Linked DNA regions of Homo sapiens: region 1 is linked to region 2. Evidence: promoter capture Hi-C in human tissues and cell types (Jung and others, 2019). All regions are on one chromosome and are shown on one strand. The core of a region is centred on a gene start or on the middle of the fragment in contact, and the rest is flanking DNA. Distances in the headings are between cores, read along the strand shown.

Region 1 (2,772 bases), core at 271-2,770, 45 kb after region 2:
GTGTTTTGTCCCCTTCAGATGAAAAACCTATTGGATGAAAATGTCTGCTTGGATCAGGGACCCGTTCCAGGCAACACCCCCATCATGTATTACTGCCATGAATTCAGCTCACAGGTATCTTCCACAATCTTCCTGGCCCTGCCTGGGCAAGTCTGTCGTGGCTCAGCCCCTGGTAACCATTGCTGGGTCTGGACTCCGTGATACGTGATGGGGAGGCAGGAGCGGAGCATCCTGGGTAAGGGTGAAATCCAGACCTGCACTTGTAACTGAGCACGTCTTAGTTTCTTCAGAAAGCCGTGGCAACGTAGTTCCATTTCAGTTACAGGGAGGATAGGTAGAAAAGCTATGCTCTGTCACATTCATTCTGCATGGTGATATTTGCATTGACAATCACCTCTGGTCCCTTCCTTTTCCCCTCCTCCCACTGCTCCCGCCATCTTCTCACTGCTACTGGAAAGCCTGGGAAAGTGGACAGGTGAAGCCACCTGTGCTTCTCCTATAGCGAAGGAAGCAGAGCTAGAGAGGATAGAGGCTGAGCAGACGCTCCTCCAAGGGATGGAAGGGCCCTGGCACCATGTGGAAGGTGCAGTCAGGGGATTTTTTTTTTTTTTTTTTTTTTTTTTTTTTTGAGACAGAGTCTCGATCTGTCGCCCAGGCTGGAGTGCAGTGGCGCGGTCTCAGCTCACTGCAAGCTCTGCCTTCTGGGTTCACGGCATTCTCCTGCCTCAGCCTCCCTAGTAGCTGGGACTACAGGCACCTGCCACCATGCCCGGCTAATTTTTTGTATTTTTTTTTTTTTTAGCAGAGACGGGGTTTCACCATGTTAGCCAGGATGGTCTCGATCTCCTGATCTCGTGATCCGCCCACCTTGGCCTCCCAAAGTGCTGGGATTATAGGCTGGAGCCGCCGCACCTGGCCTGGACATTTTTTTTTTTTTTTAGGGACAATATTCACATCTGTCTTCTTACTTTGCATGCTGCCCTCATAGCAACCTTTTGAGGCATGCACAATAGATATCATTTGCACTTAGTTGAAAAAATGGAGACACATTAATAACCTACTTGTCCAAGCTCACTGAGCAAGATAGTGTCAGACCAGGAATTTGAAAGGTTTTCTGACAACAAACCCATAGCTGAGGCCTGCAGTGACAGATTCTGGAGTTCAGTTTTGTTTTTTCTTCAAAGACAAGCTTCTTCATCCATGTAAGCTATGATTCTGTTGGAACCCTCCTAGGCCTGGCCTTCTCCCTGGATTCAAGGAGAGACTAAGGAGAAGGAAGCAGAGGTTGCTTCATGTTGTCCAGGAAGGTTCAGTGCTCTTGGTGTGACTGGGTGTCTAGGGGCCCCAAGATCATTCTTCCTGCTGTCCCTCGGGCTAGGGTCTCCTGCTGGCTGACAATGCCTATGGTGAGCCCTCTGCTTTTTTTTTTTTTTTTTTTTTTTTAGAATGTCTACTATCACCTAACTGGGGAGCTCTATGTGGGACAACTGATTGCAGAGGCCAGTGCTAGTGATCGCTGCCTGACAGACCCTGGCAAGGCGGAGAAGCCCACCTTAGAACCATGCTCCAAGGCAGCTAAGAATAGACTGCATATATATTGGGATTTTAAACCGGTGAGTTATGTGTTTTTGTTTGTTGGTTTGTTTGTTTTGTTTTGTTTTGTTTTGAGACTGAGTCTTGCTCTGCAGCCCAGGCTAGAGTGCAGTGGCTTCTCAGCTGACTGAGGCTACTGACAGAAAAGAGATTTGGGTTGGCTGTGAGATCTGGAAGGCAGGACATCCAGGGAAATTCTGCCAACCATTCTAACCTACAGTCTGGGTCCATTTCTATGGCCACTATGTCAAGAACACAAAAATTGAAAAGGGAGGTGATCATGTAATTTCTGGTGTGTTACCTAATATTGCAGTCTTGGCTCACTGCAACCTCTGCCTCCCAGGTCCTGGTTCAAGCAATTCTCCTGCCTCAGCCTTCTGAGTAGCTGGGATTACAGGCACATGCCACCATGCCCAGTTAATTTTTGTGTCTTTGGTAGAGACGGGGTTTCACCATGGCTGGTCTTGAATTCCTGACTTCGTGATCCGCCCGACTCAGCCTCCCAAAGCGCTGGGATTACAGGTGTGAGCCACTGTGCCTGGCGAGTTACATGTTTTTTAAATGATAGGTATATGAAAGGTTCAGATTTGATTTGATAGTGTTTTAGGAGAATTACTTCTTGTGGCCCCGTGTAGGGAAAATATTGGAAACAGGGAACTGGTAAGAAACACTGAGTCTCTTGACTAAGGCAGGGTGGTTAAGGAGAAGAAATATTGGAGTCTGTTGTAGCTGAACGGTTGAGAGTTTGGGCACAAGTCCTAGCTCAGTATAGCAATTTCCTTACCCTCTCTGAAGCTCAGTTTCCTCATTATAAAATGATGGAGATGATAATATCTTCTGTATGCGACTTTTGGGAGGATTAAATGAGATAGCGTGTGTAAAGCATTTCACGTGGTGCCTGGAGCAGAAGAGTGTTCAATACGCATTAGCCATTGTGATCCATTTATTATTAATGATTATCAGAGGGTGTGGAATACTATGCTGAAATCTGACAGAGGCTAATGTAGAAGCTCTGCCTTTAACTTCAATATCAAATGACCAAGGACAGGGCGGAGGGAATCTGGCAGAATTCATGTGATGATGACGCGAGGGTCTTGGCTGACAACAGTCTGTGGGGAATTTATAATGGATGGGCTTGCTCCAAAAGCTTCTGCACTCTTGGGCCAATTCATTAGGAAG
Region 2 (2,700 bases), core at 192-2,691:
ATCATGCGTTTCTTATGTTTTGAGTCTAATTTGCAAGTGGGAGGCTGGGAGACATTTTCTATCCCTGCGAAACAGAAGAAGTGATTCCTTTTCATTTTGTTCATTTTCATCCTGTTTTTCCTAAAGCCACATTACTTTCCTTTAATCCACATGTCCGCCTCAGCACATGTCACCATGTGCTGTGTTTGGGACGTAGTAAATAGTCCAAAGAGCCAGGCCGGGGTGGAAGCTGTGATTTTGACGGGATTGACAGTAGACTGAGAACTTTGAACTTTTAGCCTTGGGGAACAATTTTATGTGTTTATTCTACAATGATGATCACTGGTGATTTGTCCAAAACATATTATAAGTGTGAGGTGTGGAGGCAAAGGAGTTACTGGAAGCTGGGGCAGGGCAGAAGCCCAGTGTATGAAGTTGTGCAGAGGACAAGCAAAGGACAGAGACCAGTGAATCGGAGTCATCCCCTGAGGCTCAACCCCGGGCACCGCCTCCAGCTCTTCTCCACCTGCTTCTAGGCAGTGAAGTCCTAGGAACTAGCAAGAAAGTCTGTCCTTAAGTTTGTGGGACAAGCATTTGTTGCACACCTACTATGTCCAAAACCCTGTAGAGTTAGGTAAAAAGACATCTTAGATCCCAGCTCTCCAAAAAAGCAAGGATCTAAGTGTACAGAGACTTCTTGCTTCGTGATTTCTTCTTCATCCTATTTATCCCCTTCTTATACCCACAGGACCAGACCTCACATGCCCTATCAGAGTCTCCCAGGTGGTTTTTCCAGGGAGAGAGAACATTAAACATCAAACAAACATATATAGAGAAAAGCCTCTCACCCAGGCAGCCTGAGCTAGCTGCAGGAGCAAGCATTCTTCTGACTTCTGAGACAGTACAAGGTGTGTCCAGGTGACTTACCTGTCACTGGGCAGCTGCCATGCGCACTCCTCACACCTGACGCTGCTCAGGGAGAAGCCAGGCAGCTATAATAGTGTTCTTGGCCGGAGAACATCTGGCCTAGCAGGCAGGGTGTCATCTATGAAGCTGGGTGGAGAGAAAGCTGTTGGGGAAACCAGCCCCACACCACCCAGCGGATACCCCGAGTCCGGCGGAGACAAAGGAGTTAGAAAGAGACAGAACAAGCGTTTAAAAGGCAGGTCCAGGGGACCAGAGCGTTGGAGGCTTGCTCACGGCCCAGAGCTCTGGGCTCCACCCAATTTATTGGTTTACAAGCTCTTTGTTCTTAGGGCAGATGGGAAGGGGAGGAAGGGATGAGGAAAAGGATTAATCAGTGAGTCATTCGATAAGATGTGTAACAGTGGCGGTTTCTGTGAATTTCCTTGAGCAAAGGCGTGTGTCTAAACTACTTAAGATCTTTAATGACTGAAATGGGTGGGAGTGGGTTTCAGGAGGAGCCAAGATGTTTGATTATACTCCTCTGCTTCAAGGGAGTGTTATCTCCCTGAGCAACCTGTGGAAAGCCGCTGAGCAACCTGTGGAAAGCCGCTGAGCGGTTATCCTCTCGGGGCATAAAGACAAAGAAGGCAATAAGGAGACTTTGCTCCTCAGAGGCCACCCGTGGCTTCCCATGGGTGTCTCACACAGGGGAGACCAACTCAACTGGCACCTAGAACTCTCTTTCCCACAAAAGCTAGGCTGGTTCTGATTCTTAACCTGCTCCAGCAGTGACACACTCAGTCCCACAGGGAGTGGACGACCCCCAGGAAGAAGATGATGTTTTGGAGGAAACTCCCCAAAGCCCTCTTCATTGGGCTGACTCTGGCCATTGCTGTCAATCTCCTTCTGGTATTTTCTAGCAAGGGGACTTTACAAAACCTGTTTACGGGTGGTCTCCACAGGGAGCTTCCTTTACATCTGAATAAACGCTACGGGGCAGTGATAAAGAGACTCTCCCACTTGGAGGTGGAATTGCAGGATCTGAGTAAGTTTACAATGCTAACCTGGAAGGTGTGTGTGTGGGTGTGTGTGTTTGGGGCACTTAGGAAAAAGGGATATGGAAGGAAAAATGGGTGAGAGGTCACATTTTCATCTCAGTCGCTCATTGAAGCATCTGACACTGAATTCTGTGCCTTCAAATGGGAGATGGGTATTGAGAATGAAGTGAGTAGAAGTGGAAATTAGAGCAAGCAGTATGGGGGAGGTGAGCATGTGTGTGTGTATGCGTGTGTGGGCTTGTGCACATGCATTATCATTATATCTACATATGTGCAGGCAACGAGAAGAATAAGAATCCCAAGGGCCATAGACCTGTCCTTAGGCCTATTGAAGGGGTGGGTTGCACCTCCACACCTGTGGGTGTTTCTCGTTAGGTGGAACGAGAGACTTTGGAAGAGAAAAAGACACAGAAACAAAGTATGTAGAGAGAAATAAGGGGGCCCAGGGGACCAGCGTTCAGCATACGGAGGATCCCGCCAGCCTCTGAGTTCCCTTAGTATTTATTGATCATTCTTGGGTGTTTCTCGGAGAGGGGGATGTGTCAGGGTCATAGGATAATAGTGGAGAGAAGGTCAGCAGATAAACACGTGAACAAAGGTCTCTGCATCATAGACAAGGTAAAGAATTAAGTGCTGTGCTTTAGATATGCATACACATAAACATCTCAATGCCTTAAACAGCAGTATTGCTGCCCGCATGTCCCACCTCCAGCCCTAAGGCGGTTTTCTCCTATCTCAGTAGATGGAATATACAATC

Evidence for each region. The method cuts DNA at HindIII sites, captures the fragments that hold promoters and counts their contacts. A contact is called where the count stands out against the background at its distance.
Region 1: a contact is called between a fragment that was not itself captured here and the fragment with the promoter of GALNT8 in region 2, in 1 of the 25 tissues and cell types used here (dorsolateral prefrontal cortex).

What each region holds. Positions count from the first base shown.
Region 1 is chr12:4,763,934-4,766,705 of GRCh38, forward strand. It overlaps GALNT8 (polypeptide N-acetylgalactosaminyltransferase 8), which reads left to right. Exons shown (of 11, transcript NM_017417.2): 9 at 19-114; 10 at 1,446-1,613. Among named protein-coding and RNA genes, the nearest start is that of KCNA6, 44 kb to the right of the region's middle. RefSeq lists an enhancer at 1-342. The HindIII fragment of the contact is 3,209 bases long and covers 1-2,772 here.
Region 2 is chr12:4,718,959-4,721,658 of GRCh38, forward strand. GALNT8 (polypeptide N-acetylgalactosaminyltransferase 8) reads left to right here and starts at 1,442. Exons shown (of 11, transcript NM_017417.2): 1 at 1,442-1,930. The coding sequence starts at 1,720. GAU1 (GALNT8 antisense upstream 1) reads right to left here and starts at 1,144. Exons shown (of 4, transcript NR_110112.1): 1 at 907-1,144. RefSeq lists enhancers at 563-1,558, 1,559-2,554, 2,555-2,700. The HindIII fragment of the contact is 21,668 bases long and covers 1-2,700 here.